2 separate regions of the Homo sapiens genome follow, and region 1 is linked to region 2. Evidence: promoter capture Hi-C in 16 types of primary human blood cells and fetal thymus (Javierre and others, 2016). All regions are on one chromosome and are shown on one strand. The core of a region is centred on a gene start or on the middle of the fragment in contact, and the rest is flanking DNA. Distances in the headings are between cores, read along the strand shown.

Evidence for each region. The method cuts DNA at HindIII sites, captures the fragments that hold promoters and counts their contacts. A CHiCAGO score of 5 or more calls a contact.
Region 1: a contact is called between a fragment that was not itself captured here and the fragment with the promoter of LIN28B in region 2, in 1 of 17 cell types (megakaryocytes). The highest score is 7.6, in megakaryocytes.

What each region holds. Positions count from the first base shown.
Region 1 is chr6:105,053,649-105,060,188 of GRCh38, forward strand. The region is part of intron 3 of LIN28B (lin-28 RNA binding posttranscriptional regulator B); the gene reads left to right. Among named protein-coding and RNA genes, the nearest start is that of POPDC1, 80 kb to the right of the region's middle. The HindIII fragment of the contact is 858 bases long and covers 4,840-5,697 here.
Region 2 is chr6:104,953,879-104,959,907 of GRCh38, forward strand. LIN28B (lin-28 RNA binding posttranscriptional regulator B) reads left to right here and starts at 3,229. Exons shown (of 4, transcript NM_001004317.4): 1 at 3,229-3,382; 2 at 4,221-4,408. The coding sequence starts at 3,373. RefSeq lists enhancers at 2,242-3,179, 3,180-4,117. The HindIII fragment of the contact is 2,336 bases long and covers 1,267-3,602 here.

The DNA.
Region 1 (6,540 bases), core at 4,019-6,518, 100 kb after region 2:
TTGTCTGACAGTGATATAGCCACACCAACTTTTTTATGGTTGTTTGTATGGTGTGTGTGTGGGTGCGTGTGTGTGTGTGTGTGTGTGTGTGTGTGTATTTTGAGATGGTGTTTCACTCTTGTAGCCCAGGCTGGAGTGCAATGGCACAATCTCAGCTCACTGCAACCTCAGCCTCCCGGGTTCAAGTAATTCTCCTGCCTCAGCCTGCCATATTCAGGATTACAGGCTGGGTTTATGGGCACCTGCCACCACGCCCAGCTAATTTCTGTATTTTTAGTAGAGACAGGGTTTCACCGTGTTGGCCACACTGGTCTCAAACACCTGATCTCAGGTGATCCACCTGCCTCGGCCTCCCAAAGTACTGGGATTACAGGCGTGAGACACTGCACCCAGCCTACTGTTTGTTTGTTTCCTTTTAATTTCAACATATCTGTGACTTATATTTAAAATATGTCTCCTGCAGTCAAGATGTAATTAGTGTGTGTTTTTTAAAATCAAACCTGATGATCTCTGCCTTTTAATTGGGATTTGAGACCATTTGTACTTAATGTAATTATTGATATGGTTAGATGCAGGTCTGCCATTTTGCTCTCAGTTTTCTGTTTTTCTCATTTGGTTTTGTTTGTATTTGTTTTCTGCCATCTTTTTGGTTAATACTGTTTCATTTGCTATAAAATGTAACAATGCTACCAAAATTTAATTCCATTCACCACCACCCTGGTGTCATTCTCTGTGCTATTATGTCATACATTTTTTATTTTGACATAATTTATAAGTCCCACAATTCAGTGTTATTACTTTTGCTTTAAATAGTGTTTCCTGTACACATCTCTCATTTCTAGTTTTATTTATTACTTTCTGTAGATCTATCTTTATCCCCATTTCACCTTGCTCTTATGGACAAAATGTCTTGGAGACATTAGGGGATAATGAAAATAAAGGTGAAATTATAGTTACCGGAATGGGACTGACTAATTCTGTGGAGGGAGTGGGAGAGTGACAACCTGAAACCTGGAAAGCAATCAACTTAGTCCTAGGAGCTCTGAGGAATGGAGGGACATTCATCACCTTTTGTCCTGTCCCCATGCCCCAGGGGACTTCTTGCCACTTTGGGGTGCCCCCCATGGGGGAACCACACACCCGGGGTGCAAGCCAGTGAGTTTCCATGTGGTTACATTTTTCTTGAACCTGAACAACTTTTTTTTTTTTTTTTTTAGCATTGCTTCTTGCTGCTGGCCAAAAATTCACTCAGATATCTTTATTTTGACCTAATTTTTAAAAGGTATTTTTAATAGATTTAGAATTCTCAATTGAAAGGGTTTTTTTTAAACTACTTGTCAACTGGTCTTCATTATTTCTGAGAGGATGTTATATATAATTCATTTATTTGTTCCATAGTGTAAAATGTATCTTTTTTCTTATTCCTTTATTTGGGCTTTAAGTAGCTGAATTATGATGCACCAAAGTGTGGGATTTTGGGGGATTTATTTGTATTTATTGTGTTTCGGTTTCTCTGAGCTTTTTGGATTTGTTGATCCACAATGTTTTTCATAAAACTGGGGAAATTTTTGGCCATCATTTCTTCGTGTGTTTTTTATTCTGCTTCGTTCTCTCTTCTTCATCTGAGATTCTAATTACATATATGTATATATCAGACCATTTCATATTGTCCCTCGTGTCACTATGAATAACAGTATCTTAAACATATTTAGAACTGTAAAATTGAACTCAGGGTTTCTAAAGCAGTTGGAATTCATGGGACAGGATACTGGAGAGAAGAGATCTGTGCAAAGGAGAACTCCTGTACCTCTCCCTCCTTAGTCTTGATTAAGGGCCAGGTTGCATGTGCACAGGTTGAGGCCCTTCAAAGCACAGCAGCAGGCTTTGTTGTCTGGCAGAGAGATAAGCAAAAATATCTTCATATTTATTATATTCATATTTCTTTATTTTCTTTGATTCAGTTTGTGCTATTTCCTTATAATCTGCTTTTTAAGTTCGCTAAATTTTTCTTCAGTTTCTAAGTTACTGTTATTCAATCCATGAATATTTTCATTTTAGATATTGTAGTTTTCAGCTCTAATATTCCTGGTTGTTGTTGTTGTTTTAATAGTCTGTCTTTCTTCCTTCCCTCCACCCTTCAGACAGGGTCTTCCTTCCAGCCCAGGCCGGAGTGCAGTGGCATGATCATGGCTCACTGCAGCCTCAGCCTCCCAGGTTCAAGCAGTCCTCCCATCTCAGCCTCCTGAGTATGTGCACGCCACCATGCCTGGCTTTTTTTTTTTTTTTTTTTTTGGGTAGAGACTGGATTTTGCCATGTTGCCCAGGCTGGACTGAACTCCTGGGCTCAAGCAGTCCTTCCACCTTGGCCTCCCAAGGTGCTGGGATTACAAGCATGAGCCACTGTGCCCAGCCTCTGTTTTTATTTTTTTCTACCACTATTCCTCATTTGTTCATTCATTATGTCCATCTTTTCTTTTAAGTTGTTGAACATATTTATGATAGCGATTTTGAGTTATTTCCTGCTATTTCCAACATTTGGGTCTTTTTAAGATCTTGACTACTTTTTTCCTTAAATATGGGTCACTTTTTCCTGCTTCTTTTCATGCGTAGTAATTTTTTTATTGTATGTAGAATATTGGGCTGATAGATTGTAGGGAGTCCGGGTCATTTGTTTTCTCTACAAGATGTTGACTTTTGTTCTGGTAGACAGTTTTTGCTTTTGCCAATTTTGTTTTTATTTTAGATTATGGTAGATCTATTTTCATGTTTTGCTTAGTCCTAGGATGCAGTCCTAGGGTACATAGAGTATGATCCTTATTCCTAAGGCATGAGTTTACTAGGATCTCAAGTGAAATGCCTGTGTTTCTCGATTTGAAATCCATTGTGGTTTCTTGACTTCTGGCCAGGCCAGAACTCCAGTATCTCCCAGCATTTTGTGGCCTTGGATATTTTTGCTTATCTCTCTGCCAAACAACAAAGTCTGCTGCTGTGTTTTGAAGGGTCTCAACCTGTGCTGCACACATGCAACCTGGCCCTTAATTACGAATAAGGAGGGAAAGGTACAGGATTTGCACAGATCTCTTCTCTCCAGTATCCTGTCCCAAGAATTCCAACTGCTTTAGAAACTCTGAGCTGAAATTTATGCCTTTATGGCTCACTGAGATCCTGCTGTGCTTGTGTTTCATTGTCTTCTTGCCCCTTAGTCCCAAAAGTCTACCCAGGCAGAAAGCTGGGGCAAACATCTGGGCTTACTTTGAGTGTTTCCATTCTATCAAGCGCTACAGTTTTTTACTACTTATTGTCCTATCCAGTGACAATAAACAGTTGCGTCTTATATCTTTCCCATTGTTATAGCTGTAGACCACAGAAGAGTAAGTCTAATAAGTCTATCATATTCAGAAGCCCACTGAACCTATATACAGTATTCATAACTTTTTTTGTAATGCAGAGATAAAATATCTATACTATAAAAATTACATGTAGAAATTTATTTTGGGGTTGCATGTTGTTTTACAGCCTAACTGTGGTACCATTTCCAGAGATAATTTCTTTATAACCTCTTGTATTAGTTTTTGTTTTCCAATCCATCAGCTATTCCCCATCACCTATTAAAGGATCTGGTCTCTAAGGTCTTTTTATATACGTGACACTGAATTTATGTCTCAGCATGAGGTTGAATTAAAATATATGTGGCATGTTTTCTGCTACACATCATCACTATCATCTGCCATCTGACAGCATAGGAAATTATTTGGCTCCTACACTTATACCTAACATGCAGCTCATTTGAAGAGTGTTGTATTTCTCATTTTTGCAGTGTTGAGTGTTTAATTTGCCTTGACATGTTATGCTGCTTCAATCAAGGTGATTTTTCTTCCTCTTTCTGTATATGTATATTACTCAGTATAATTTTTATCTTAGTATCCCCGTGTACCTCTTCTTTCATTTCTTTTACTTGTATGGAATGGCTTAAAGCCAATTTATTTATCATAGACAAGTACAAGCATTGATATTTTATTGTATTATTGTGTAGTTTTACCACTATATTTTAAAATTGAAGTATGTATTAGTTTACTATAAATTACTTTTTTCTATATATTATGGTTAAGGAATATAGATAGTTTAAATTATATGTATATAGAGATTACATTACTTTAAGTTTATTTCAGTATAAGAATAGGGGCATTACAAAAATACTTAGTATAAAAAGGAAATATTGACCTAGTAGTGTTAAGAAGTGTTGCTTTAAACAAGTTAAAACATACTTATTTTATAGTCTGAATCTGAGCAATTCAATATCTGAACGTTTTGGATCTAATTCTACTGGCTGTATGCAGCTCATGGTCCCTTATTTATTTAATTATTTTGTCTTTTATGATTTTTTTAACCAGAAATTCATATTTCTTGAACTTTTGTCTACAGGAATTTTTTGACTCCTGGCTTGACGGTGCATTTTCTCTGAGGAGGGTATGTGTTTATTTTATCATGTTCCTAGAGGTACTTGTACCAACTGGGAACCATTTAAAAAGAAATTCTCAGCTTGAGTTGTAGCCCCACATGAGCTGCAACACCATATAGCATCTGGCTTGTGATATCAGTTCTCAAGGGGGAGATCGTTTTCTCTTCCTCCCACCACATAGTTGGGAGCAGAAAAGTTATCTTGCCTTTTCCCTTCTTTGAGGTAACTACTTTTCATTGGTCTTTACATTCTGAGTATAGTTTTGGGCAGGGTTTCCAGCTTTCTGTGGGACAGGATCTCCTGTTAGACTCCTAATTCTGGACAGATCTTAGGCTTTGTTTTCTAACTCCTCTGCTGCATCAACCAGTTTACAAGATGAAAGCTTCAGATTGTTGCTAGTGTTCTGTAGATGTCTCCAGAATGAGAGGCTATTTCAGTGCTCCACTGACCTCCCTAGTTTTCTGCTTTCACTTTGTTTTTGGCTTCTAAGCATCACTGACTTTTCAGTGCCATCAGCAAAGCAGTTCAAAGGATGCTTTAGAATATTTTTCCAGCATTTTTAGTTGTTTTTCAGTGGTATGGTTGTTCAGAATATTTTATATGCTACTTTGAAGGAAATGAAGTGTATTTTTGTATGTAATGTAATTATGTTATATATAATGTCATTTTAATGTATGGTTGTTGCTTTTTAAAATTTGCACTTTTGCTCCTGTGGGTATTTTAAAGGTATTTGTGCCATTTTTCTTTCTCTTTTTGTGAATTACCTGTTCACGTCCATTGTCTGTTTTTCTATTGGACTCTGGTGATTTTCAAAAGAATATATAGTACATGGCTTTGGAAAGGGCTGCTTTTCTGAGGAAATGAGTCCCCTAGGAAGATCTGTTTCCTAAGATATGCTTGTCAGACTTTGAGGAAGTTTGATACTGGCGCTATGGTTTAATTTTAGTTCCTTAATTCTTTTGTATTCGTTTTATGTTCTATCTGTGGCCTCTTACTATCTCCTACTTGCTAAATCCAGCAGTCTATTTTAATACCTCATCTTGTTTGATCTATTAGCCCCTTTCTTGAATGCGAAACTGTATGTTGTGTGTGTGTGTGTATATATATATGTATTTTTTTTTTTAAACTAGGGAGAAGTATCTCTTTTCTTGTCTTCCTTCTACTTTTCTGGCTGTTCCTTCTTAGAAAGCCTAACTGGTTCCTCCACCTGAAAGTTATTAAATAGTGGATTTCCTGAAAGCTTTGGCTGCAGTTCTTGTTTCACTCTTCACATTTTGCTAGGTGACCTCTGAGCTTTAGCTACTGTCTGTTCTTTCAGTGATGTCTCCCAAGTCTGTGACTTCAACCTTAGCATCTCTTCAAGTTTCAGACTCGCTGTGTCTCCAGAGATGCACATCCACATGTGGTTAACTTGTAGTTTTTCCATTACTATTTTATTGAAAAATCATTATAGTGGTAAGTGAAGCTTAGTAAGATTTGACAAAAAATTGATTAGATAAAGGGAAATTGAACTGTGCAGTAGTTTTGCCCAAAAGATGAAGCTTCTGCCATAGAGTTACATTATAGCTCAGTGGGTGCCCGTTACTCTGAAATATTACTAAAATGTATGACAATACTATTTGGCCCAAAAAGTATGGCAAATAGGAATTCATGTTTTTATTGCATTTGACACTAGTCATTTTGCATTTCTTCCACTTTAATGATGCTGCCCTTTAGTACTAAATATTCTTTTTTCATCCTTACATTCCAGCATCTTACAATATTTTCCCTTTTCATTTTCTTTATTCTCATGTTACTGTATTTTTTTTTTTTTAAGATGGAGTTTGGCTCTTGTTGCCCAGGCTGGAGTGCAATGGTGCAATCTCAACTCACCACAACCTCCGCCTCCCAGGTTCAAGCGATTCTCCTGCCTCAGCCTCCCGAGTAGCTGAGATTACAGACATGCACCACCATGGCTGGCTAATTTTGTATTTTTAGTAGAGACAGGGCTTCTCCATGTTGGTCAGGCTGGTCTTGAACTCCCAACCTCAGGTGATCCGCCTGCCTTGGCCTCCCAAAGTGCTGGGATTACAGGCGTGAGC
Region 2 (6,029 bases), core at 1,979-4,478:
TTCTGCTTTAACAGAAGTCACTCATTCCTTATAATTGAAAACAACGACGGTGGGCTCTGGCACCTCTTTCGGCTCCTTGTACTGTTGGAAAAAAAGTCTGGGAAAACGTGTACCTTGTTTTTTAAATGGGGATGATTGTGATAGCCAACAGGCATATGGTAGGTTATTTCCTTGCTTTTTCCCCCCAGTACATTGACGATTCTTTGTAGCTACTTGAACTCATTTTAAAGACATTTTGAAAGAACTATAAGTCAAGCTATAAAGTATTTGGCTTTTGCAGGAATAAAACACCCCTTTTGAGTCAAACACAGGTCTTTCAGGCACTAAAACCAAGTAGGAAATGAGAAAAAAATTAAAACCAGAAGACTTCAGGAAAGTGACAAATTGGAAAGCATTCTAGAAGACTCATAGGACGACTTTCTGTGAAAGAAGCACTCTAGGAGCTTTAAAAGCTTATGGGCAATTTATATTATAAAAGGATTTTAGGCTCAAAAGTTTTGGGGGAAGGCACAGAAAAAACAGTGCCATATTCTTAAATTGGTGAGTGATTATTTTGTGTTTCTCAATGTGTCTCCTTCCTTTACTTCTCTCCCTTTCCAACTTCCTTGCTTTCTTCTTCCTTTTCCCTCTACCCTTCCCTCGCCTCTTCTCTTCCCCTTTCTTTTACCCTCCCCCAAGGTATGTAAATGCATTTGTCTTAAATTCTTCATGAACGAATTTTAGAGGATTTTTCAGGGTTACCAGTTGGAAAAAGCCTTCTACACAACTTGAAAGGCTGATGTCCCTCTCAGGAAATGAATGAGTCGATAACCTCTGACACCAGTGACCACTCCAGTGAACCTTACCTTAATTCCACTAATACTGGAGGCCCCCAATCAGGCAAGACTGTGAATCTCATAACTATACTGTACAGTGTAGTTCAGTTATGGTATTCCACTTTTCACCCACATGTTCATAAATTTGAATTTCATCAAATTTAACAATAAACAGATTCTGAATCTACCTACATTATTATGCTTCTGGTTTTATAATGATTAAACTGTTTTCTAATTAAAAGCAAACTTAAATGAATATTTTACAAAGCTAAACTATACTGGCCTGTGAATTTTGTGATCATTACTTTTATGTAAGTAATAGCATTTCACCTCAATTTACATGAATACTTTCTGAGATTTTTTTCCTCTTATACCAGATGTTGATTTTTTAAAGTGATTATTAAAATATGAAAAAATATAAATTACTTTCTCGATTTCATATTATGTCACAAGCTTAGCCTGTAATGCCATCATTGAGATTACTTTCTTGTCAGTGTAATCAGTATAATAGAAGTAATTTCTACCATCAAAATAATGCCTAGTAAATGTTTTGTTAGTAAATAATTTTTTCAGAGCTTTGAGCTTTTGTTAAACTTTCAAAGTCATTGGATTTTTGCACCTTTTCTTTTCTCCCTAACAGCTGGCACAGGATTATTCCTCCCAAAATAAATAAAATGAGAAAGTAGCCCTTTTTCCTGAGAAATAACAAAAGGAATAACAGACAAAAAAAAAAATCTTTCCAAATTGATTAGTTTTCATTAAACCTTTTATCAAAAACAGCTGAAAATAACTTCTATTTTTTATACATCCATTTTCCAATCTGAGCCAATTAAATTTATATTTAGTTGTTTAATATGGGGAGGGAGTATAAATAGGTGTATACAGCTTTTTCCATAGCTCTTCGATTCATAATCCCTACATTTTAGCTTGTGTGAAACAGTGCTGGAGTGTGGATGTGTTTGAAGAGACTGGGAGGGGGATTGCTGGCATGGTGGGGGAGGGTCAACTCGGTAGCTTTGTCGAAGGAAGTGGTATCTGAACAGTTAGTTTCTTGGTAAACTGCTTGTTTAAGAAAATGGGGGGTGGGGTAGGCAAGTCTGGTGGTGCATTTTAAGGTTTTAAAATAGCGATATTTTATATTTTAAAGGAAATAAAGTCTTTTTAGTTAATCTATAATATTTATTATAGTATTCGATAAGGGCAGAAATACTGTTGCCAGCATCTTGTAATCAATCGTTTGAACCAGTTTGAAAGGTAAAGGGGGTAGGCATTTTGAAACTGGGGGTCAGTTGAGGAAGGACAGTAGGAGCTTCATCCGTTGTTACATTTTCGTTTATTCAACTCTTCTAGCCATTGGTAGTGGACTTTTAAAATGTCAGGGTACAAGTCAATATGATATGAATTTACCTTTTTTCTCCCACTTGTCCTTCTTTCTCCACCCCACCCCCTGCCCGCGCCGGCTTTTTTTCTCTCCCACCTCTTTCTTTGACTCTGCTGCCGCCTATCCTGGCGGCTCCTCTTCACCTCCCCTGCCTGGCGATCCCCTCCCCCTCCTGCCCTATGTCCTCCAGCTCTTGGGGAACAATCGCCACTGATTGAGGTTCACTCTATGTTAGGCTGGAAAACTGGGCTGTTATTTAGGAAGTCATTAATCACATCTCCTCCCCCGGAAAGAGATGGCAGAGAAACCTGTGAAGTACAATTCCTTACCAACCCCCTCTAAAATTTTCCAAAATGGTTTACCTAAACACAATTTGACTATATGAAGGTGAAAACGATTTTTCTAGTAGGATTTTATTTTAAATTTGAAAAAATTTCGGGCATAATCAGGTAATTTATGTGCCTCTGCCTTTTCCTAGGTGTATGTTTTCATTATCTAAAGTTTCATGGGGATGTAATTAGGTTTAATTAGATCTTTTATAAATTATATATTTTCCTCTAAGAATTGAATTAAATATGAAATTAGCGTTCCAAGCAGGTTTACTGCCATGGAATAGCTGAATTCTTAAGGGGAAAAAAAGCGTTAACATCGGTTGTTTTATTTAAACGACCCCCTCCCATGATTTTAGTCAGGCTTGTGTGTAAGGCACGCGTGTGCACATATATGACTGCCTTTTTTTCTAAATCTATGATTCACAAGGTCCCTCCATTGTGTTTAAGTAGAAGCACGAAATCAGCATTCTGATTTATCCTAAAGAAGCGTTCCAAATTGTCTTTAAGATAACATGTTTGAGTTTTTCGTGTTCATTCATAAATTATTTTGATGTCAGCATAGATGAAATGGCGATTGGTTATCTCTTCCTCTTGCCAGCCCCTTAAGGATACGAGGTGAAATTAGTAGCAAGAAAGCATGTAATTGACAAAGTCACGTGTGCTCAGGGGGCCAGAAACTGGAGAGAGGAGAGAAAAAAATCAAAAGAAGGAAAGCACATTAGACCATGCGAGCTAAATTTGTGATCGCACAAAATCAAGATGTTAGATTGATGCAGAAGATCACTCCGTTCCAAAGGGAAAGTTTTCATCTCACGAGTTTGGAGCTGAGGGCCCGTGGGGCAACATGGCCGAAGGTTAATTTTCTTTTCTATTGTTTTACTGTGAATTTCTTTCTTCTTTTCTCCTCCCCCTCCCCCTCTCCCACCCTTCTTAGACCGTCCCCCCCTTCCCCTTTTACCCCAATACTGGGCATTACCTCCCAACCCCCCATCACGCAGTGGGGCTTTCTGCAAACCTATTGTTATAGATCTCCAAAAATGTTTTGTACCGCCCACACTGATTCACAACTTGAAAAGCTTTCAGGGGGCTATTGTTTGAATTGTGTGAGTGTGATTAAGCGCAGTTTCAGTTAGTGATTCCAAGAAAACTTTTATACACCTGCCCCCTCCCCCATTCCACCCCAACTTTAATTGAAAGTTATGGGGGGGAGGGGAATGCACATTGCAAATAACGCTGGATTCAGTGCTGCCCCATGTGCCTTAACTAGTAGCTCTAAACCATCTTCACGATTTCTCTTTCCTCCTCGTGCCCGCCGGAGAGAATAGTTTCGCTGAAAATTTCTCTTTGTCAATGGGATCAGTATTAAATCAGCAATATACAAGTAAAGTATCGCATGCTGTAATGTAAAATGTGGCTGAAAAATGGAGTTAAATGAATAAGTACACGTATGTATAGAAACGTGGAAGTTGGTGTGATCGATAGAACAGTGTGGCTTCCCCCTCCCCCGCTTTCCTTTTAACCCTTTTCATTTTAAGTATTTTCTGTGGAGAAAAGAAATCAAACCATTAAAAAAAATTTTTTTTTTCTGTTACCCTTCCCCCCCAACCCCAGGCAGGCAATTTTTTTTTTTTAATCTTTGAATGCACATTGAATGGGAATACAGACTGACTTTTTTGTCCTGTTCCTTCTCAGGCGGGGCTAGCAAAGGTGGTGGAGAAGAGCCCGGGAAGCTGCCGGAGCCGGCAGAGGAGGAATCCCAGGTTTTGCGCGGAACTGGCCACTGTAAGTGGTTCAATGTGCGCATGGGATTTGGATTCATCTCCATGATAAACCGAGAGGGAAGCCCCTTGGATATTCCAGTCGATGTATTTGTACACCAAGTAAGCCAAACTTTTTTGTCCCCCTCTTCATCTTTTTCCATGTGGAGGAGCTGATCGGTAGTTATGCCAATAGACGTACGATAAGATGTCCTTCGGTATATTGAAAGACAAAATCTTCCCTGAAATCACTAGGTAGTCCAACGTTTAGGGTACGTGTATGGGCCTTTTCCTGGGTTTTCTGTCTAAAGAGAAAAGAAAATATTTGAAATTTCACTATATATATTAAGGTTGACGTTATTAGCATTTCCCCCTGCTTCATTCTACAGCGAAATAGTGTTCTTGTTGTTTCCGGTATTACCTATACAATATACTTTGTCGCCTGTATCTGGTGAATGGGTAGAAAAATGAAGAAACATGATCATTTTAAGGTTGAAAAAACAAAGCGAAACAGTTTGCTGTGGAAAGAAATGTATAGATTGCCTTATTTTAGACACCTCTAGTCACAGTAGCTCCCTTTATTATTTCATCGCTGCCTGTCCTGTAATCATTTTGTAGATTCAGATCAAAATAATTTGACTTCATAGTAAAATAAAATAGAACACTGTTGGCCTAATGTGGTTGTAAAGAAATGCGTGCAATAGAGGGATGCTTGATAAACATTTTAGAAATGTGCTCCGTGTAGTCATTGGTCTACGTATACTGTCTCTTTAAGAGACTGAACTCAAAAAAACATGTGGCCAGAGGCGGCTCTTGCTTGTGTGTTTAAAATGTGCTGGTCTGCTACTTGGGGTAAATTTCCACCTTTGCTCGTATTGTGTTGTAATTTTTAAAGATGTTTTAATACCAAACAGAATTTCATTGCTTCCCATTTTCAAAATTTTACCCAGGAAATAATGAATTAATACTTCTGCCTTTACTCCTCTCTACTGCTTAATCCCTTTATAGTAAAAAAGATACTTTTATGGAAGCCGGTTGTTTCCTCAAAAAAAGGTAAATATAAATTTTCTGTAGTTAGAAATAAAGAGGTTTACGACTAAAGAGGTTTATTTTGGCATGATAATCTAAGTTAAAAAGAATTGAATGAAAGGCTGTTAATACTACAGATTGACTGACAGATACATGGGTGAAATATTTGGTATATTTGCTTGAAAAGTATATATTTGATACTGTGTTGCATGTTCCTAGTAATATTTATACCCCCTTCCCTAAGGAATATCATCTTCAAATTAAATATATAAACAATAGAAACATATGAAACCATTCTGTTTTGATCTGTTGTCCTGTGGTGCTTGGTAGCTTCCTGACCTTGCTGTGTGGTGTGTGTTTTCCTTTCCTGAAGGCCTGGCCATCATTATTGGCTGTTTATATGTGGAAGGATCAGCATAATCTGTGAATTGAAACAGGGTTTAAGTACACAAATACAAGTCCACATACAGACTACTGGATTTTATGCTTCCTATTTTATAGTGCAAAATGAAGCTACATTTTCTGTTTTTTCCCCTCTAAGACTGGATGACAAAAATCATAGACAAATCCATTTTCTCTCAGGCTCTTTCTTCCACCTTTGAACCTTCTTTAGGTTGTTAAATTGTTTTTTATGATCTCATAAATTTGTTTTATAGATGAATGAAAAAAATAACCCTTCTTTGTCTGGTCACGCCTTTTTATAATTTGATTTTCT